Regions from separate parts of the Homo sapiens genome. Here all the other regions are linked to region 2. Evidence: promoter capture Hi-C in 16 types of primary human blood cells and fetal thymus (Javierre and others, 2016). All regions are on one chromosome and are shown on one strand. The core of a region is centred on a gene start or on the middle of the fragment in contact, and the rest is flanking DNA. Distances in the headings are between cores, read along the strand shown.

Evidence for each region. The method cuts DNA at HindIII sites, captures the fragments that hold promoters and counts their contacts. A CHiCAGO score of 5 or more calls a contact.
Region 1: a fragment that was not itself captured here is called in contact with the fragment with the promoter of TEDDM1 in region 2 in 17 of 17 cell types (M2 macrophages, M1 macrophages, M0 macrophages and 14 more); the score reaches 70.1 in M2 macrophages.
Region 3: a contact is called between a fragment that was not itself captured here and the fragment with the promoter of TEDDM1 in region 2, in 5 of 17 cell types (M0 macrophages, M1 macrophages, M2 macrophages and 2 more). The highest score is 8.0, in M0 macrophages.
Region 4: a contact is called between a fragment that was not itself captured here and the fragment with the promoter of TEDDM1 in region 2, in 13 of 17 cell types (erythroblasts, activated CD4 T cells, total CD4 T cells and 10 more). The highest score is 9.7, in erythroblasts.
Region 5: a contact is called between a fragment that was not itself captured here and the fragment with the promoter of TEDDM1 in region 2, in 15 of 17 cell types (neutrophils, megakaryocytes, M0 macrophages and 12 more). The highest score is 9.9, in neutrophils.

Annotation. Positions count from the first base shown.
Region 1 is chr1:182,083,885-182,088,117 of GRCh38, reverse strand. No RefSeq gene overlaps it. Among named protein-coding and RNA genes, the nearest start is that of ZNF648, 24 kb to the right of the region's middle. RefSeq lists an enhancer at 2,746-2,795. The HindIII fragment of the contact is 1,820 bases long and covers 706-2,525 here.
Region 2 is chr1:182,398,500-182,402,720 of GRCh38, reverse strand. It overlaps TEDDM1 (transmembrane epididymal protein 1), which reads left to right and starts at 2,054. Exons shown (of 1, transcript NM_172000.4): 1 at 2,054-4,221. The coding sequence starts at 2,236. The coding sequence ends at 3,057. The HindIII fragment of the contact is 8,350 bases long and covers 1-4,221 here.
Region 3 is chr1:182,792,967-182,797,612 of GRCh38, reverse strand. It overlaps NPL (N-acetylneuraminate pyruvate lyase), which reads right to left. Exons shown (of 13, transcript NM_030769.3): 3 at 3,174-3,257. The coding sequence starts at 3,241. Among named protein-coding and RNA genes, the nearest start is that of NPL, 5.5 kb to the right of the region's middle. The HindIII fragment of the contact is 1,435 bases long and covers 922-2,356 here.
Region 4 is chr1:182,067,394-182,071,615 of GRCh38, reverse strand. It overlaps a transcript of ZNF648 not described here. Among named protein-coding and RNA genes, the nearest start is that of ZNF648, 7.8 kb to the right of the region's middle. The HindIII fragment of the contact is 2,333 bases long and covers 1,625-3,957 here.
Region 5 is chr1:182,102,185-182,106,813 of GRCh38, reverse strand. No RefSeq gene overlaps it. Among named protein-coding and RNA genes, the nearest start is that of ZNF648, 43 kb to the right of the region's middle. The HindIII fragment of the contact is 5,644 bases long and covers 1-4,629 here.

The DNA of each region.
Region 1 (4,233 bases), core at 366-2,865, 310 kb after region 2:
ACTGCCACCTGGGGCAATAAGGGTGGTTGTTTTCCCCTGTGGTTGCCCTCCTGGTTACCTTAGTGACTCATGGAGGCAGTGGGCCAGCCTGGGACAGAGGAGCAGGGGTCTGGTCCAGGGCCAGCCTGGGGCTCTGATCCGCGGCTGCCCCAGATGTCCAGATCTGACCAGGAGCTATGAGGGAGGAGCCTGCTCCCATATAGCCATAACTTTTCTGTTCTGAGCTCATCAGTGTGGCCTGATAAAGTCTACAGAGAGGCCCTCAAGGAGGAAGAAAGAAAAGGCAGGGAAATATACTTTTTTTAGCTAGAGCTCCATCAGCGAGTACAGAAAGAGAACATTCTCCTAGGAGAAAGCAAGGCATACTCTGTCCTCAAGGTGCCATTTTCCCCAAGCAATAGAGGCAAGGCCAGATGAGCTGTGGAGGGGTGGAAGATGAGCTTGTGGCTCCCCACCCTGTCCCTTGCATGCACACCCACCCTCAGGGGCTGCAGCTGGGGTGGCTGAGAGGGGAATCCCTGGTTCAGGCTTTCCTTGTCTTACACAAACTGAGAAGGAAGCCTTGAGAATGCTGGTAGTGCATGCAGGGTGGAGCTGAGAGGGCGGAGAATGAGGTTTTTCACCCACCCTGTGGGCCCTCCTGTTTCCTCCACCCTCCCTGTAATCTCAAAACATCCTGACTTCACTGAGCAAAGGCCCCAAGCTTTTCATGGAAGAGCAGCAGCTTGCAATAGCCCCAGAGTCTGAAGATAACATCTCCCTTGCGGTGGCAAGAAAAGGCAAGGGTGCTCAGGAGAGTGCAAAAGTCCTCAGGCCCCAACCAGAAGTTCTGCCTCTGAGGTCCTCAAAGACACGGGCTCCATCTCCTGCTGTTCCCGCTTTGATTTTAGGGTGTTGCTTTGCTGTACTGGTGCCAGTAGCGGCCACACTGCAACTCTGCTTCAGGCACAAGGATTGGGGTGGGACCCTGTGTCCGCTCTGAGAGCACTTCTGCCTCCAGCCCTCTCTTGGTCCTTGTCCTTCATGTCCTTTTTTGGTGTGAACTGGGTTCAGGAGAGAAGCCCAGGCCCTGACATCTGTGGTCAATGCACACACTCCAGGAAGTTGTCTTAGGGATCAACCAGGGGCACCCACAAAATGGACTGGGGATCATGACTGGCCTTTCCAACCCACAGACCACCTTCATTCCACTCAAAATAGCGCAGCTCTGACTCTACTTAAGAAGGACGCTCTGATAACATGCTGGTGACTTTCACCTAGAAATGGAATCCATCCTTCAGGGCCCGGCCCCCTTCCTGCCTCCATGATGAAACCTTCCTGTCCCTTCCTGTCAACCCTGAGGCGCCACCACCTTCTCCTTCCCGTCATGTACTCACAATAGTTAACATCCACGGCTCTCTTCCCCTGCACTAGGGGCTGGGATGGGGATGGAACGGGGTGCCCTCTATCCCTGAGTTCCTTCCCATGCAGAGATGTAGAAACAGTCATCATGCATGGTTCCATGAGAGATTCCAAGAAAATGCACAGCAGCTGCAGGAGTCCCCAGGTAGCATCTGAAAAATGATTTCCTGAAACACATAGGGTTTGGATGGCGGGGTCAGGAGAGGAAGGACTTTCTGGCAGAGTGTAGATGGGAAACAGTGGATGGATGTGCAGGGAACCACCAGGAGCTGGCCCCGCCAGAGTGGGTCCCAACCAGGCCAGCCATCCAGTGGGCGCCATGGGCACCCGAGCTTTCCTCCCCCGGGCTTCACTCTCTTTGACCACTTTCTGCCCAGGGCCATCTGTGGGCAGTGACTTGGGGAGGCTGCAGGAAGAAGGGACAACAATTGAGTCACTTGTTGTTAAAACCAAAAGCCCGCCACCCCAGCCAAGATTTTCCACATGGGGGTAGCCCTGCCAACGTGTGCCCCCAGTCAACATCAAGATGTCCCCCACAGGCCTCAATGTCACGAAGGACTCCTGAAAATACTGCCTGTTTGAGAGGGGACAGAGACTAACTGTGAAATACTCCTCAGTTTCCCTGCTGCTTACCCAAGAGTTGGGTTGAAGCTCAGCCTGGGGCGCCACTGCTGGGGTGAGGTGGGCTGTGTCAGGCCAGCCACTCATGCCAAAGCTGAAGATAGGATGAGAAGGAGAGAGGGAGTGCCCACTGGGGGGCATAGGGCTGTGCCCAGGAGGGCACTGCTTGTCTTTGCAACCTAGCAGCCATCTCTGGCGGGATGCCTAAAATACCTCGGTCAGCCTCCCAGCTGAGGGAGAGCAGGAGGCGTGCGCTGGGGTCTGCATTAGGTTTTCACAATGGATAAAATCAGTTCTGTGATTGAAAGGCGAGGCCTTGGGAAATTAGTCACACAAGGGAGAATTGTGCCTGCCTCCATCAGAATCACCTGAGGATTCCCAGGAACCATCCAAGAGACTCTGATGCAGGGGTTCTAGGTTAAGGCCTGAGTCCCTTCTCTCCCTCCCTCCCTCTCTCCCACTCTTCCTTCCTTCCTTTCCCATGCAAAGCCCCTAGCAAAGCTTAGAATAAGAACATGTGGGGCTGGGTGTGGTGGCTCACGCCTATGATCCCAGCACTTTGGGAGGCAGAGGCAGGAGGATCACTTGAGGTCAGGAGTTCGAGACTAGCCTGGCCAACATGGTGAAACCCTGTCTCTACTAAAAACACAAAAATTAGCCGGATGTGGTGGCGGGCATCTGTAGTCCTAGCTACTCAGGAGGCTGAGGCACAAGAATCACTTGAACCCAGGAGGCGGAGGTTGCAGAGAGCCATGATCGCACCACTACACTCCAGCCTGGGCAACAAGAGCAAAACTCTGTCTCAAAAACAAACAAACAAAACCACGTTGGATCCACACATGGCTATAGATCCCTACTGTGTGCAAGGCAGCTGGCATCCTGGCCCTCTGAGACTGGCCTAGGGGAGGCCTCCTGGTGACTTCCTCCCAGAGCTAGAGAGGCGGTGTCCTTTGCCTCTGTCCTGCTGAAGGGAGTCCCTCATCCAAGGGGCAACGCTGCCACCTCCTGGTCAGTCTTAGAACTGTCCCCCACTCTGAATGCCTGGTGTAAATAGAGGCAGGGAGCCGGGAGAGGCCTCCCTGTCCTCCTTCTCTGGCTCTGCGTTTGAATATCTTATTCTAGGAAGTGGAATGTCCCCCAAACACGCGCCTCTTTTGGTGCCTCTTGTTTAAGTCTATCTTCCCTGGGAAGCCACTAGTCAACAAGTGGATCTCACTTACCCACCACTTTGCCTTGAATTCAGTGCAAGTCAGCATGTGTTTGTGGAGCACTTGATATGAGGGGGCTGGCAATACAGAGGACAATAAAGCAAAGCCCCACTTTTGCAGAAGGGAGTGAGAAGTGGGGGTGATTCATGAATATGAGTCACTTCTATCTGCGGTGATGTCTGAGCTGAGTCCTGAAGGATAAGCCAGCATTAACCAGTTGAAAAATGGAGAAGATTCCAGGTAAAAGGATGAGCAAGATGTGAATTGCTGGCCTTTTAAATAGAAACTTAATTGCTACATTTTTAATGCACCTCTTTGCTGCCCCCAAGAGGACAGACTACAAACCTTTTTTTCCCTCAATTTCTGGGCAGGTTTAAAAGGTTAAGAGAAAGGAAAAACAAGTTTTTCAGTTGCTAATCATTAGGGTTTAGGGGCCCTCCAGATCTATGGTGAAAAACAAGAGGGAGGCCTGGGTTTGAGAGACAAAGCAATGCAACCCAAGGAAGCAGGAGGCAGGGAAGATGCCTCCCCTAGTAGACAGTTCTCTGGGTCAGTGTGGGGAGAGGACTCCAGGCCACTGCCCCACCCTGGTCCCCGCAGAGCCCCAGAGAAGTATCAAGCCCCAGAGGGAAGTGTCTGCATAGTGCCAGGAAGCTCTGGATGTCAGCCTTACAATGAATTCCCAGGTCCTCAGAATGGCAGAGATGCATCCTGAAGCCAGAGACCTGTGATACAGGCTGAAAGAGCCCCAGATGTCACCCTTGTAACCCACTTGGACAAATGCCCAAGGATCAGCCTCCTTGACTCTGTGAGGGACTCGCGAACCTTGACATTGTCCCAGAAGTAGAGAAATACCAGTTCAAACCACAATGAGGAAATAAAGGAACTCAATGTTCTTGTACCAGGGTTTATAGCAGATTCATATAGGTCATGGGTGCAAAGGAGATCAAGACAGGGCCCCTGTTATTGAAACAATTAGAGAGAGAGCAGTACACTTCTCAGT
Region 2 (4,221 bases), core at 805-3,304:
CGGGAGGCTGAGTCCGGAGAATTGCTTGAACCCAGCAGGCAGAGGTTGCAGTGAGCTGAGATCGTGCCACTGCACTCCAGCCTGGGCAACAGAGACAGACTCAGTCTCAAAACAAAAAACAAACAAACAAAAAATGTGGTACACTTTAAATACAGTAGTCCTCCCTTACCTGCAGTTTCATGTTCTTAGGTTTCAGTTACTCACAGTTAACTGCAGTCTGAAAATATTATAGTATTTTGAGAGAGAGAGAGAGAAATTATATTCACACTTTTATTTCAGCATCATTTTATAATTGTTCTATTTTATTTTGAGTTATTATTGCTAATCTCTTGCTGTGCCTAATTTGTAAACTAAACTTTATTATAGGTATGTATACATGTATGGGGAAACCAGTATATGTAGGGTTCAGTACTAACCTATCCCAGGTTTCAGGCATCCACTGGGAGTCTTAGAAAGTATCACCCATGGATAAGGAGGGGCTATATAGACATTAATTTTTATAAAAAAAATAAATGGGGGCTGCTTTGCCTATAGAGTAGCCATTCTTTTATTCCTTTTTTTCTTAATAAATGTGCTTTCATTTTAAAAAATAAAAAATAATGAATAAATAAATAAATGGGGCCAGGTACGGTGGCTCACGCCTGTAATCCCAGTACTTTGGGAGGCTGAGGTGGGTGGATCACTTGAGCCCAGGAGTTTGAGACCCAGCATGGACAATGTAGTGAGACCTCATCTCTACAAAAAATAGCTGGATGTGGTGGCTCATGTCTGTTGTCCCAGCTACTCAGCAGCTGAGGCAGGAGGATTGATTGAGCTCAGGAGGTTGAGGCTGCAGTGAGCCGTCATCAAGCCACTGCACTGCAACCTGGGCAACAAAGCGAGACACTGTCTAAAAATAAAAATAAAAATAGAAATAAAAATAAATAAATGAAGACTCTTGCCTTGGATGCAACCCCTCATATGCAGCTGGCTGCTACCTAGTGCTTAGAACTCTTTCTGCCTATATGTGTTAGACACATAGTAAATGATAATTAAAGAGAGAATAAAGTTGAGGACCTAATTCACATTAAAATATAAGCAGTTTGTTGGATCTACTTATCTCAACATATCTGCATTTTAATAAAAAATTATACCTTAACATTCCAAAATTGATCTCAAAAGGTGACATTTTACATTCATCTACTGTTCTTTGGAAAGATAATTTGGGGCAATTGAGCTGCTTTCTTTGTGATCCCCAAAAACTGTTACAGAAGAATGAAGAGGACAAGAGCTCAGTATCTATATATATGAGCACACATCCAAACGTTTATAAACTTTTATGTCTAGGAAGAATGTATTTGCTCTCAGTATATGACCCAACATATGAGTAAGGAGTCTTTTTTTTTTTTGAGACAGTCTCGCTCTGTCACCCAGGCTGGAGTGTAGTGAGATGATCCTGGCCCACTGCAACATCCGCCTCCCGGGTTCAAGTAATTCTCCTGCCTCAGCCTTCCAAGTGGCTGGGATTACAGGCACTCTTTACCATGCCCAGCTAGTTTTTGTATTTTTAGTGGAGATGGGATTTCACCATGTTGGCCAGGCTGATCTCGAACTCCTGACCTCGAGATCTGCCTTGGCCTCCCAAAGTGCTGGGATTACAGGCTTGAGCCACCATGCCTGTCCGAGTAAGGAGTCTTAAAGGATGCATTAAGGTTTGTGAGTAACCCGGGTCTTCTCTGGATAATCTCCGTGCTCAGGCACCTCTCTTTTTCTACTCCGAGCATTGAACAGGGGCAGAAGGAAGCAAGCCATGAGAGAGAGGGACAAGTGTAACCAGAAGGTCCTCAAGGGTCCAAAAGCAGAGCTCCTGAGAGCACAAATTCCCACAGGTGCATACTAAAAAATATTTATGTTTCTACTTTGGCAGAACTCAATTAGTTCCCAGTGTACTGGAATGAAATGGAACAATGAGACCCACCTCACTAAAAACCTAGGCTCCTGTCCAGAACTTTCCAGTCTGTGAGAGAGCAGTGGGCAGAAGGAGATGATAAAAGTAGGTAGAACTTAGCTCTGTATATATAGGCCCAGAACTCGAGAGGCCTGTGAGGGAGAGGAGAGCAGAGAGGTCCTGAGTATTGCTCTTCACGCTTCAGTCGGACAGGCCTGTATTCCATGGGAAAGTCCATTGGCCATTTTTAACTGGGGCTATTTCTTTTCTCTTATGGACTATATCAGGCCACAGTGGTCTCCAAGGGCATGATACTCAAAGGTTGTCTCCTGTATCCTTTGTGCTCTCCCAGGAATAAGCAAAGATGTGCCAGGCTGTGGAAAATAGCCTATGGAGGATTACTAAAGATAGTGACTGGCTCCCTCTTAACATTTTATGTGGTTCTCTGTCTTGATGGCGGGATGGTGCTCATGAGGAAGCAAGTGCCATCAAGGTTCATGTACCCCAAAGAGTGGCAGCACCTCACCATGTTCATCCTCCTCACTCTTAATGGCTGTGTGGACTTCATGAGCAAGAATGTGCTGCCTCAGAGGTGTGTGGGCCTAGAAAAAGGTACCCTGGTCCTGATCATCTACGAGCTCCTGCTGCTGATGGTGTCACATGTTAAAGATTCAGAAGGGGTGGAGCTGCACGTTTATTCTCTGCTCATCTTGGTGGTGTTCCTGCTGTTGCTGGTGTTGACTGCAGAGCTGTGGGCTCCCAACATGTGTCATCTCCAGCTGATGGAGACCTTTCTGATTCTGATGATGGGCTCCTGGCTGATGCAGGCAGGCTTTATTCTATACAGACCCGTCTCTGGCTACCCATGGCAGGACGATGACATCAGTGACATCATGTTTGTCACCACCTTCTTCTGCTGGCATGTGATGATCAATGCCTCATTCCTGTTGGGAATCTATGGCTTCTCTTCCTTTTGGTATCATTGTTTCAGACCCAGCTTGAAGCTGACTGGGCCCAAAGAAGCTCCATATTATGCAAGCACTCCAGGACCCCTCTACAAGTTGCTACAGGAAGTGGAGCAGTCAGAGAAAGAGGACCAGGCTCTCCTCCTTCCAAAGAGCTCCCCCTGAGACAGGGCCTACAGTGGCTGGCACATCGTCCACCTCATCTTCCTCCTGTTGGCTCCTCAGCCACGAGCATGGTACCCTCCTTGGTAAAGGTAATGGCCTTGAAGGCTAGCAGTTGGTCCCGTCTGCTGGTTCATTTTCTTTTCTTCTCTTTTCTTTTTTTTTTTTTTTGAGACAGAGTCTCGCTCTGTTGCCCAGCCTGGAGTGCAATGGCACAATCTCAGCTCAGTGCAACCTCCGCCTCCCGAGTTCAAGCGATTCTCCTGCCTCAGCCTCCCGAGTAGCTGCAATTACAGGAGCCTGCCACCATGCCCGTGCTGGTGCATTTTCTGTCCCTGAGCCTCTAATTACTGAGAAGATAAGGGGAGAGGGATTGAGAAAGAGACGCTGATGGGATTTGCGGGAGGGAGGGAAAAGGACGAGGAGAACACTTCTTCTTAGTGTGCAAGAAAAGCCACTGGGGGAAGAGAATGCAACAAAAGGAAGAGCTGTGAAGGGAGGAGAACAGAGTCTAGCAGTTATGCTGTCATTAGCGTCATCAGGCACAAGGGATTGCCTTTTACCTGAGGGAATAAAGACTTCTCACAACTCAAAACTGGACCCATTCAAATCTCATCTTGATAAAGAAAAGTGGGTACTTTACGTGCTCACCAAAGTGGTGCCACCATGTGGAAATAGCATGATAGAATTTATAATTAATTCATACAGGCTGAAATTATGCTCGCTTTGCCTCCTTCTCTCTCCGCAGCTTTCAAGAATTGGCTTCATTTCAAACTTTACATATAAAGTGAGACTTTTTAAATACTTAATAACATTTCAAATTTCCATAATTTAAATTTGTATAGAATTCAACTGCTATAGCATTTTTATAGCATTCAAATGCTTGGTACTTCCCTGACTTCTCATTTTATTACTCTTATTCTAGCCCAAACTTTCCTTTTCACCATGACCACCCTTGCACATGCAATTTAGCAGATACCATTCTTGGGTCTTTGCAAATTTCTTTTCCTTGCAAATCACAGCCAGTCATCCTACAGTCACATATTTACCATGTTATTCGATTCCCAGAATAAACCTACATCCACCCCCACACCGCACCAAGTATCCCCAAGGTGGCCTTCTCCAGAACTCTTACTGATTCCCTTGTTTTGGAACTCTTGGGCACTT
Region 3 (4,646 bases), core at 390-2,889, 400 kb before region 2:
GAGCAAGAAAGAAGAAGATGGTGGTAGAAAAAGGCAGAGGAAAGAGAATGAGTGAAGGCATGAAAGGCAGAAGAGGTATGGTGACAAAGAAATGAAGCAGGAAAGGTAAACTGTGAGGACTTCCTATGCCATCCCAGGGAGTCTGGGCTTTAATCTTTAGACCGGCTCATCTCAGACTTTAATGCGCTAAAGAATCATCTGGGACACTGTTAAAATGCAGGACTGATCTGTAGTATGATACAGCCCGAGCTTGTGCATTTCTACCAAGTTCCCATGGTGGTGGAGCAACTGGTCCATGGGCCATATGATGGGTAGCAAGGCTTAGACAAAAGAGAGTCAAGATTCCTAAAGAGGAGAGTGACATGATCAGATTTATTTACTAGGAAGCTCACTGAGCTACAGTGTGGACGATGGACTGGAATTATAGGTACTTTATACATTCTTATTTAATGGTGATCCCCACAATATCCCCAATGACATGAGAGGACTGCAGACTCTTAAGAGTTGGAAAGGGTCATAGAGATAATGTGGTTGAACTTCCTTTGGAGAATATGAAAGAGCTTTTTTTTTTTTTTTTTGAGACATATTCTCACTCTGTTGCCCAGGGTAGAGTGCAGTGGAATGATCTTGGCTCACCGCAACCTCTGCATCCCAGGTTCAAGCGATTCTCCTGCCTCAGCCTCTTAAGTAGCTGGAACTACAGGTGTGCGCCACCACGCCAGGCTAATTTTTGTATTTTTAGTAGAGAGGCGGTTTCACCATGTTGACCAGGATGGTCTCGATCTCTTGACCTTGTGATCCGCCCACCTCGGCCTCCCAAAGTGCTAGGATCACAGGCATGAGCCACCGTGCCCGGCCGAGAGAGCTCTCAAAAGGTGACAAGATCTCCCCAGGGTCGGAGAGCTAACTAGTGGCAAAGCTTGGGATCCAGGACTCACATCATTTCACTAAGATCTACTTACCCATGTTCTTTCTGCCAGCTACCCTACTCCAGGACATCAACTTATATGCAGAAAGCTGAATTGTTACTGAGCTTTCATTGGAATTGAGAAGAAAAAAGGATATAGGGAAATAGTCCTTGTTCAGCCACTCAGAATTATGGAGGATATGTATATGTACATGCCAGGTTAGGAGAACTCCCACAATGGCAGGTCACCTGGCAGTATTTCCAGGTATTAGATTCCATGTGCCCCTTCCTTCCATCTCATGTCTTAGAAACATGCCAGAAGTGCAGATTCCCTTGTGGGTAAGTACATTAAAGCCTACGTGTTCTTGGTGGGTGTTCCAAAGCTACTTTATACCTACAGGAATGTTTGATGAAGCAGGTGGTGGGAGAAAAGGGAACTAACATGGCTCACATGCCTACTCTGTGCTATACACTGACCTACACTATTTATTTCTTAAAGAGCCTACACATAATGCATTCTTTTTTTTTTTTTTTTTTTTGATTTCACACCTTAGGAAAGTAAGGTTCCTAGAAGAAAAACGCAGAATTGATGAGAAAATAGTAAAATGGATGCAGCAGGACCACAGATTTTTGGGAAACGGAAAAAGATCCAGAAAAAGTCATTTTAGTTATCTCTATCATGGGATCTGGCCTTCCAGGAAAACGGCAAAACAGGGAGGAAGAACACACTGACATTGTCCGTGGGTCCCTGATGAACAAACAAGACTGTTTTAAGAAGCCACTTCCAGGATAAGAGGGGTCTTATTAAAAGGTTAAAGTAGTATGGACCAGATGCAGTGTTAGGAGATTACAGAAAGGATCTCACTCTGTAACAGGAAGTAAATCCTGCCGATTCATGCAATCACATGTCTTCTGTTTGATCTGCGAACAAGTGACTGATGCATTGAGAAACAGCTGATGCCAGTCTTTCTTAAAACTTGTGGAAAGGGGAAGTAACAGAAAAAAAATTATTATTAACCAGCTGAGTAATCTAAATGCCGTATCAGCAAGAATCTTATTTAGACCTAGTAAGGACGTGATTTTTCATGGATCTTAGAAGCCAGAAGTCTTGGACTCATTGGAGAGTCTCTAAGGTAGAACTGCAAAATGGCCAACTTTGAAGGAGAATACTAAAAGACATGAGAAATTTCATCTCCTTTAAAAGGGTAAGATGAACGTTTATAAATTCAGCAACAGAAGACCAAAAAGAAAGTCCCTTGTAAAAGGTGTACTAAATACATCTTCCTTTTGCCTCTGCCTTATGACATAAAGGCAGTTCAAACTTTTTGACCTAAGTGCGTATTGACCCTGTGCCAAGCACTGTTGTATGAATTATCTCATTTAATGCTTATAATTCATTATGTAGGTATGATTATTATTATAATATTACATAGAAAGAAAGGAGAAGCTTAAATAAGCCAGCATTCTAACTTTTTGGCAGCCTGACTCCTCTGACAGGTCAAAAACATATAGATCCAGGAGGTGGATGAACTCTCTTTTGTCAGGGGTGATGTTCAAGGAGGAGTTATACACAGTGCATGGCTCCCTATGTCACAGGGCCTTTTTGTTATCTGATTTTTTAGCAGAAGGACTGCCACTGTATTCATCTGGAGGTCAAAATACTTGCTTGGGGTAATGATTAGTCAACAACGGACTGTTGTTACTTCCCTTCCCCCGCTGCCCAACATCTAGTCAATGTTGAAATGAGGCTGTAAACAGGAAAAAAGAGTCCATCTTGCAGATAACCTCCCACTTTCCTCAGGGTAGGACATTTTTATCAAGTCTATGAACAGCCTGAAGTGGAATCATGCTGACGTCCAGAGACAGCATCCTGAGAGGGCCTAGGTCAGTGCTTGATATCCAATTATGCTAAAATGGGATTCTCATCCAATGCTACTGGCCCTGTTTAGAAAGGCCAAGGCTGTGGTGAAATCCAAGGAGAATTTGCTCTGTGGTGCTACAGACACTGGGAGAAAGGCAAGCTGCCATTTCTCACCTTCTCCCTTTCTGCAAGGTGATATAGTGCTTCTCTGACTTTGGGGTCAGAGATATAATGCCTCCTCAGACTTGGGGATCAGAGACAGTGCAGAGGGATGACAGACAGAAGCTGCCTTTTGGCAACAGTTCTACAGAGGTGCAGGGTCTTAAGTGACTGTTGTTACAAAGAACTTCTCTCCTTTTTGGTTGAATGAGAACTGATCCCCTCAAGGCCCCAAATGATAGTTACCCATTCTCAGTCATTGGCGTGATGGTTGCAGCCACAAGACCCTGAAGTTTCTTCTTTGGGAAGGCCATTGAGCTGCTGGTAGGTCTGGAAAACATACAATGTAATTTCTCTCTTTCTTCAAGGAATGTCAATGATAAAACTCCCAGGCAAAGTCCATTTCTAGTTTAGAACTGTAAAATGTGCTTACAAGTACACAAACACACAGAGCAAGTACAAGATGGTAAAATTTTAGTGCTTAATTCTATTGAGGAGGAAACTTTAAGACAGGAGAGGGTAGACTTGAGAAAATACTACGTGGACAGTCTCCCATTTTAGCTATACAGATGATGGAAGCAATCTAACACCTCAAAGGATAGAGGTTAACAGCAGCAGACCCAAGAAAGAGCTTGAACCTAACTCAGGTAAGTAAAACATACAGTGAATTATAGTCATGCCTCAGTATACACAGAAGATCAGTTCCAGGACCTTCGTGTATACCAAAATCCATGCCTACTCAAGTCACACAGTCAGCCCCAAGCCTGGCATATGAGAATTCTGCATCCTGCAAATACTGATTTTCTATCCGTATTTGGTTGAAAAAAATCTGTGTAAATGGACCTGCACACTTCAAATCAACGTAATTCAAGGGTCAACTGTACTATTACTTAAACTGAAATATGGTCATAAAAGGGGACATTTTCTCTTTCCATTGTCTTCATTCTTAGAATCTCACCTAAAACAAGCCTGTCTTAAGGTTTCATCATGATTTACATAACTACCTTCAGATTTACCTATCTTTTTATATCCTAATTTTGCCCAGTTTTGTCCAGTTTTCCTAGTTCTAGTTAACCATGTAGACTGCATATTCACCTCCCTCTTCCCCACTACAGCAGGCTCCCAGGACAGGGATGTTTCATTTGCCTTTGCTCTCTGCAGTGAGCCCTCTGCTTGACACCAGGTGTTCAATTCAAGAGCGAAGAATATGTGGGTGACTGAACGAGGTGTTCAGACTGTGACTGGATGATGGCTTCCACAGATGGGTAGCGCACTGCTGGAAGAGTCCAACTCACACCACTCATTTGGGGCCAAAGGATCTCTCACCATCTGGCAGAGAGTGTACCTGCCCATAATCAGTGTAAAAGACTCTGGATGGGCCACAAGAAGCAACAGAGCAGACTGGTTAACAGCCTCAGTTCCATAGGCAGACCACCTGGTTCAACTCACAGCTCTGACATTTGCTAGTTCTAGAAGCATTATTGTTTTTTGAGCTATAAGACATAAAAAGCCACAAATGCAATTTCAGACCACAAATTTAATGTCTAACAATTGAAAATGAAAATAAAATATAATCAGATAGTATTTGATGACAATTCTACAAAAGATAGTGGTCTTGTAGCAAATAAAGTGATGTCTGTAGGTGACCAACAAGAAGGGTTATGCTATAGTTCTGACATTACTGGCACATTCAAAAATGCAATGCCCACTATACTTAAA
Region 4 (4,222 bases), core at 1,542-4,041, 330 kb after region 2:
TCTAACTGTGGATGCTACCAATAAGCAATCATTTTCCTATACTTATTTACACATAAGTACTTAAACAGTAAAAAAAGATACATTATTAATACAATGAAAAAATAATGTGTCTGGGTAAATAAGCAGCACAGGAGCATCACCAGAATACCTGTATCAGCTGTCAGACAACAGCAGCAACAAACAACAGGCTTTCAGCTACAATGCTGTGTTTTGATTAAAAGGTCATTGAACGCTGTATTTTTTTTTTTTTAGGTGAGGAGAAACATCCAAAGCAGTGGGGGACCAGGAGGTGGGTCCCTTAGGATGAGGAGGCATTCTGAATAAACTGTGTGTTGTGCACCTGCATTTTGGCTATGACCTGTCACATGAGGTCAGGTGTAGAATTTTTCACTTTTGGCATCATGTCAGTGTTCTGAAAGTTTTGGATTTTGGAGCATTTCAGACTTTGGATTTTGAGGTTAGTGGTGCTCAACCTATACTAAGCAGATGGCTACAGTAAGGCTGTTCTGAAGCTTGGGGATGTCTTCACCTCTTAAGAGGAAGAATCCTAATGGGTGAGGGTAAACCACCCAAGGAGCCGATGTGGGTGTGTAGCCCAGAAACACAGAGCTGAACAGGCTCAGGAAGCCCCCAGGTCCACTGAAGGTGCTGAAACAGTGTCACTGGGACTGGGATGAAACTATAGCTGGGTGCTAACTAACTAAGGGGCAACCTTTACAGTTGAAGATGTGTCAACAGGAGAATGGCCTGCCAGGGTCCAGGAAAAGGGACTTGGCAAAGCGAGAACTTAGGTCTATCCCCAGTACTGCCCATATAGGTTGTGTGAGAGCAAACCTGCAGCTGGAGCCACAGGTAACAGGGCCCTGTGCAGTTATAACCAGGAACCTCTGTTTTAAAAATCACCCATTTCCTTTTCTTCCTTCCCTTCCCTCTTACCCCTTCATTCCTTCCCTCTCTAGACAATCCCCTCACCAGTGCATGCTTATCTAATTATGCTCTTACCTAAGAAATCCCAGAGGCTAATATTGAAACAATCCAGGTGCCCCACTCCTCCCACTTAGGGGGAGTTGTGAACAATTGAGCCAAAATCAAGCTAATACCAACCAGACCTCCTGATGAGCAATTAACCAAGAGAGCCAACGGAACAAGACACACAAGTCCAGTACCCTGTACCACTCCCACATGTCCCCTATACCACATATCCCTTTAAAAACTCTATGGTAAGTTATAAAATGTAAGATGATACTTTAGAATGCTAGCTTGCCATCTTCTGGGTTTGCTGGCTCTGCTTTTCCTCCCAGAACCCCTTGCCTCTGGCTTTGCAGCAGCAAGCAGCTGAACCTGGGTCCGGTTACACAGCCGTGTCCTTGGGGTGCAGAAGAGGCACCAGGCTCCTGATACCAGCCCCAGCTCTGATTCAGTGCTCTTGGTGCTGTAGTTCAACTTGTCTACACTGTCCTATGCATAGAGCCAGGCTGGTGAGCCTTCAGGAATGTCCTGGGATCCTCGGCAGTCCCGTTTTTCCTGGTAAAGAAGGACTGCACATCACTGTGCAAAGGGCCTCTGCCATATCTCATCCTCCCTCCCCTCCTAAGTGAGAAAACCTGGCTGAAGAGCAGAAGCTTGCTCTCCAGAGTAGCCATGCCTGGAGCCCTCACACCTCTGCCCTTCCCTAACTAGCCTGGGCACCTGGGGTGGAGGTGGTGACAGGTGGGTGGGGGAAGCGTGTCAAAATAGAGTTTTTGTCTCTGCAAGGCCAAGGACTGGGTCTGGCCCAGGCACTTTCATCTGATGAGGCCCAGCTATTAGCAGATTGTTGATACTTTTTATTCCAAATGTAAGATTTCAATTCTACATATGTACAAGAATGTAATTTGCTTCATTGATGTTTTCAAACATGATGACATAAAATTGCTCAAAGTATGCCTTTATATTTTTATACCTTACTTATATTTTATTTCTTTTTAACTCACCCAGCCCCCACTCCCCATTAGATTTGCCAGAGGTTTTCATGGTCTTTTCAAAGAATAGACATGCTTACTGTTCAATATAGGCAAAACCAGGCCACAGCTCATCCTGCCAGGAGAATCCACACCTACAGAGGGATGCCGCACTCCAGCAGCCCTATAGGAAATTTCTTTCAAGAAACTTGCTTCACACCCGTGGCCAGAGTGCTATGAAGAGAGGTCCTCTCTGGTTACGTTCAGTGCAGCAGTTGAAAGAGGAAAAGGGAGTATGTTTTTATGGAAACCTCAAATGCCCTTCCACATCTCCTGTGAATTACCTCTGTGTTCAGGCAGCCGAGCTAGACAGCTGCGAGGAGAGGCGTGTGGTTTTGATGGGGGCCTTGGAAAGAAAAGGCCCCTTGTACCCTGGCCAGCGCATGTAGGTGGTGTGACCTGGGAGGACAGCGGAGCCAGGAGCTCCGCAGCTGTGTCAGAAGCCAGGCTCCCAGCGGCAATGTTCCAGGGAGCCAAAGGGGGAGCCAGAGAGCCGGGAGGCTCCAGCCTGGTCCAGAGAGAAAGAGACAGCACCTGCCCAAGGCGGTAAGCAAGGATCAGGGAATATGGGGGAGAATTCTGGACGGTGGCGAGCCCCCTGCCTTTCCCTTCCTCTCTCCTTCCTTCCTTCCTTTGTTCCTCCCTTCTTTCTTTCTTTCTTCTAAGAACAGAGAGGAAAATTTTCTTTTCTTTTTCCTTTGAGACTCGGTCTCACTCTGTTGCCCAGCCTGGAGTGCAGTGGTTTGATCATGGCTCACTGTAGCCTGAGCTTAACTGATCCTCCTGCCTCAGCCTCCTGAGTAGCTGGGACCACAGGTGTGTGCCACCACATCCAGCTAATTTTTAAAAATTCTTTGTGAAGGTGAGGTCTCCCTATGTTGCCGAGGCTGGTCTCGAACTCCTGGGCTCAAGGGATCCTCCCGCCCCAGCCTCCCAAAGTGCTGGGACTACAGGTTACAGGCATGAGCCACTGCACCTGGCCCCAGATTATTCTTATGTACAGCAGGGTTGATGCAATGTACAATGTTTTTCAACTGTGTTTGACCAAGAATCAGAGCAAACCAGACTATGAGATACAGTCTTCATTATATACCCCCAGACTATGTTTATAAACCTAAAACAAAAATTACATGAAACTATACTTTTATGTGTGAGACACTTTGATATATTCTACTGTCTTCTGTTCTATTCTAAAAAAGAATGTTGGTTGTGGCTCACTAAAGTGATTCCCTGTCATATTCACAGATTGTGTCCTGCAGTCTGAAAAACACTGACATAGTAAAGCTCAACAAATGTTTGGTGAGTAAATGAATGATCGAACAAATAAATGAATACTTCAATCTCAACACCAGTAAAACAGAGGGGCTGCACTAGATAATTTCTTAGATCTCTTCATTAAAAATACTGAGGTCGATGCCTTTGTTTTTAAATTTCCAACAGCTTCATCATGCCCCTGGGCTCTGGTAAGCCTCAGTTCAAGGGATTCCCACTGATACAAGAGATCAGAGGGTTCTTTTTCAATGTGTTTATTACGTAAAGATAAGCAGTATCTTCCCTTCTAACCTCCCCAGACCTTCTATCCCTGAGCCCAGAAGGACCAGTAAAGTCAGAACGTAAACCTAAGGTATAGAAGATTCCCAGAAGTCTCATTTGTGGTGTTCTTCCTCAGTTTTCTACAAGGTCCCAAGGCTGAGGTGGAATGTGGAGGAGTGGAGGCCTGAAGTCTCTGTGGCCTTGAAAGATGTGGTAGTCAGTGTGGGCCAAGATAATATGCTGCTATGTCAGTAGACAATTTGAATCTTCAGCCTCTTGTACCCTGAGGGTTCCATGAACCCATCCAACTGCTTGCAGTGAAGCCCAACCCACTGCTTGCAGCTTATGCTCCCTCGGCCTGGGCCAGAGGCTTCCAGGGTCATCTGGCAGGGTCACTATAGTGCAATGTAGGTCTTGAGAAGCTTGGAAAGGGCTGGTCTTCTGGTGAGCTCCAGAAGTGGCTCCAGAGACCACTGCCTCAGTAGGACCTGGTTATACTGAGTAAGGGCTTCAGAAAGTTTGAGGAAAAGGTTCCAGTGGAGACCAGAGGTGGGTTCTCTGGGTTCTCTGCTGTTTAGACAGGAGGTAGAGGTGCCTTCCTACCCCATATTATATTGTTAGCTAATACTGATTGGGCACTTGTCCATCCCTTGTACTCTGCAAAGCACATCATCTCATTTAAACCCCAC
Region 5 (4,629 bases), core at 1,039-3,538, 300 kb after region 2:
TAAGTGCTAAGGATATAAAAGCAAATGAGATATGGAGAACATCCTTAAGAGACTCACATTTGCATATTAAATTATTTTGACTTTTGTAGCTAGCAGTGCAAAATTCGGGTTCAATTTTAAACAATCAGTTTTTTCAGTTGAGGCTAAAGATGGTTTAGTGTTAAACAAAAGAGTACAGGATTTATGGCTAGGCTTATCTGAGCTATTCTAGATGCATCACCCTAGATAAATTAGTTAGACTAGCCAAGTTTGAAGAAGGAAAATTAATTCAGAGCAATTTTCCTGTTGAAGATAACCAGAAACTTTTTTTTTTTTAAAAAAAATGAGAACCAACAAGAGAGAGAATATAATTACTGAACCAATTTGGAGGCTTAAAAAGGTAAATTGGAAGATAAGGCTGCTCTATCCTGGGAGCATTTGGCAATTCATGAGGGGTTGGAGAAAGGGTAAGAGGCTAAATTAAGGGAATGGATTATATTCTAGGGCCTGCCAAGATGAGGAGAGTTGCTGGTAAATCTCCCCATTTCAAGTTGAGATACTGAAGAAGAATGAACTTGAACTACATAAGGCTTCCTAGACACTTCAGTTTACAATAATCTCAACTGCCTGGCAAAAGCAAATGTAAGTCCTTTCTCAATGAAGAATACATTTCTATAAGCAATTCTGCACGTACAATTATTAGCACATAATTTAAATATAGCCACATGAGGGCAGGTACGGTGGCTCATGCCTGTAATCCCAGCACTTTGGGAGGCCAAGGTGGGTGAATCACTTGAGGTTAGGAGTTTGAGACCAGCCTGGGCAACATAGCAACACCCCATCTCCACCAAAAATACAAAAATTAGCCATTCTCAACCCCATCTCAAAAAAAGTAAATACATAAAAATTAAAAAAATAAAAAAATAGCCACATGAAACAGGAAAATATGACTAATAAAATAGCAGAAACAAGGACAGTAGAAATAGATCCACATGAAGTCTTACAGATCCACATAGAGTCTGATTATTTAAATAACCAAAAACATTTTATAATATAAACATGTTGTGTCAGTCAGATTTCCAACCAGACACAGATGGAACCATCAAACTATGATAATATGAGGGATAATATTATTCCTTAATAAAGGAATAATTTTCAAAAGTATGGGTTGTGATGGGGAGAGATGGGGTCCAATACTCTGGGGCTATGAACAATGAGGAGGCTTTACCACCTGTAGGCTTGAAGAGTTACAGGGAGGGAGGAACTATCAGAATCTAGAGACAGAGAGTCTATGGTCAGGGAATGTGGCCAGCCCACAGTGACCCCACAGGAAGAGATCAGGTAAATCAGTACCGAATCTCACTCTCCTCCTTCCCTGTGGTCCTACTGGTACTTTACTTTAGCCAAACACAGCTAGAAGCCAGAGGACAAGAAAGTTAATTGATACAGTCCATGCAGATCAGGTTCCTGGAGAGGCAGCAGAGTGGAGAGAGTGAAGATATATCCATAGAGGTGAACAGAAGTATATAACATGTGCTGTTATTTTTTCAAGAAAATAAATGATTAAGGACTTAGCAAACTAGAAACTATATAAAAGAAACAAAAAGAAGTTCTAGAATTAAAAAATATAGTAGTCAAAATTAAGAACTCAATGAATAACTTTAGCAATTGTTGAGACCCAACTGAAGAGAAAATTTGTGAAGTGGAAGATAGGTCAGAAGACAATCATAGAATAAAGCATGAAGAGGAAAAGGATGGAAAGTCTACAAGAGATGGTAAGAGGTGTAGAAGATATAGTGGGAAGATCTAGTATATGTGTAGTTAGAGTATCAGCAGGCAAATAAAAGGAGGAAATAATGGAAGCAATATCTGAAGAAGTAGTGGCTGAGAAATTTTCAAACTCAAATACAACTAGAGAAAAAGGGACAGATTACTCTCAAAAGAGCAACAGTAAGACTTAGAGCTGACTTCTCAACAGTGGAAGCCAAGAGGCAGTGAAATTACATCTTTAAAAGGCTGAAATAAAATAGCTGCCCATCTAAAATGTTATGATAAGAATTTAAAAATCTATCAAGAATGAAGATTTTTTTAAGTTATTTGATTTCATTTTGTTTTCAGACAGGGTGTCTCTCTGTTGCCCAGGCTGGAAGGCAGTGGCACAATCTCGGCTCACTGCAACCTCTGACTCCTGGGTCACCTCAGCCTCCCAAGTGTCTGAGACTATAGGTGCACACCAACACACCTGGCTAATTTTTGTATTTTTGTATTGGATGGGGTCACACTATATTGCTCAGGCTGGTCTCAAACTCCTGGGCTCAAGCAATCCTCCTGCCTCAGCCTCCCAAAGTGTAGGATTACAGGCGTAAGCCACAGGACCCAGCCAAGAATTTGTAAGAAAAACTGCATTAAAACAAAAACCAAGGAAATTGTCACCAGCAGACTCATAACTGAAGAAAACATTAAAAAGTTCTTCAGACAAAACAAAAAAGTATTTCAGTTAGCAAGTTGGAGATCAAGGGAAGAATGAAAAGCAAGTCAAGAATAAATATGTGGTTGAGTCTAAATAAATATCAACCATACAAAACGGTAGTACAAAGTATGGGGAGTTTAAAATGTACAGAGAATCAAAATTCACAATAACAATGATTGGGAGAGGAAATCAATGAATTAACATCTAAAAGAATTAGTAAAAACTAGTAATTAGTAAAATTAGTAAAAACAGGTAACTTCCAAGTTAATAAATGGGAAAAGTGAAATAATCAAAATTCATCTGTATATAAACATACATATATGTGTGTATATGTATGTGTACATATACACACATGTATATGCATATACATGTGTAATCAGTATTCATCTGTATATATCAAACTTCATCTGTATATAAACATACATATATGTGTGTGTAATATATGTGTGTGCATGTATATGTATATATGTATACATATATGTATATATACACATATATGTATATACATATACAGTGATAGATTAATTTGCTTAACTATAAGTAATCATTTCACTATGTATATGTATATCAAAACAGCATGGTATAAACCTTAAACATGTACCATAAAAAGGCACTGTTGGGGATAAGAAAGACCTACTTCATTATGATAAAGTTGAATTCACCAGGAAAATATAATTCTAATTTTCTACATACTGCTAACATAGCCTCAAAATATACAAAAGAAAACAGAAAAACAAATTCACTATCACAAATGGTAGACTTTTAACATACTTCTCACAGCAAATGGTATAACTAGCAGACAAACATTATTAATCATATAGATTTGAACAACACAATCAAATACACTTGACCTAAAGAATACTTACAAGACATGCACACTATAATTGCAGGGTACAATTTTTTTCCAAGCACACAAGGAAAATTCACAGAAATTTACTATATGGTAGGTCATAATGTAAGTCTCAATAAATTGCAAAATATTGAAGTAATTCCAAGTATTTCTCCGGGGAAAAAGTGACAAAGAGATAACTAAAAAATCCTCATATGCTTGAAACTTCAAAGAAATCATGATGGAAATTAGAATAAAAAAATGTGAAAACATCATTTTCCCCAAAACTGATCTACAGATTCAATGCAATCTCCCTGCCACAACCAAAAAAAAGAAAGAAAGAAAATAACAGTTTTTCTTTTGTGGAAATTGACAAGCTGATTCTAAAGTTTTTATGGAAATGCAAAGGGATAAACACAACCAAGACATTCTGGAATAAAAACAAACTGGCAGTGGTGGCTCACGCCTGTAATCTCAGCACTTTGGGAGGCCAAGGCGGGCAGATCACGAGGTCAGGAGATCGAGACCATCCTGGCTAACACGGTGAAACCCCGTCTCTACTAAAAATACAAAAAATTAGCTGGGCATGGTGGTGGGCGCCTGTAGTCCCAGCTACTTGGGAGGATGAGGCAGGAGAATGGCGTGAACCTGGGAGGCAGAGCTTGCAGTGAGTCGAGATAGAGCCACTGCACTCCAGCCTGGGCAATAGAGTGAGACTCCATCTCAAAAAAAAAAAAAAAAAAAAAAAAAACAAAACCTGGGAGGACTTGCTCTACTGGATATTAAACCAATTAGTCTGGGAGTGGTGGCTCACTGCAACCTCTGTAATCCCAGAACTTTGAGAGGCTAAGGCAGGAGGATCACCTGAGGTCAGAAGTTTGAGACCAGCCTGACCAACATGGTGAAACCCCGTCTCTACTGAAAATACAAAAATTAGTCGGGCGTAGTGGCACATGCCTGTAATCTCGGCTACTTGGAAGGCTGAGGCATGAGAATTGCTTGAGCCCAGGAGGCGGAGGTTGCAGTGAGCTGAGATCACGCCATTGCACTCCAGCCTGGGTGACAGAATGAGATTCCATCTCAAAAAAAAGACGAATTATAATGATTAAACTATAGTGTTTAGGATTAATGCATAGGTGGTAAAACTACAATGAAAAGCAAACAAGTGATTTCCACAAAAGTCAGGGTAGTTTTTTCCTTTGAAGGGAAAGGAGGAGGTAATAATTGAAAGGCATCAAAAGGGCCACTTCTGGGATTCCGGCAATGTCTAGTTCTTGATTTTACCTGGGTGTTTGCTTTGTGATAAATCACTGAGCTGGACATTTTTTGTTTTGTGTACTCTTTGGTAGAT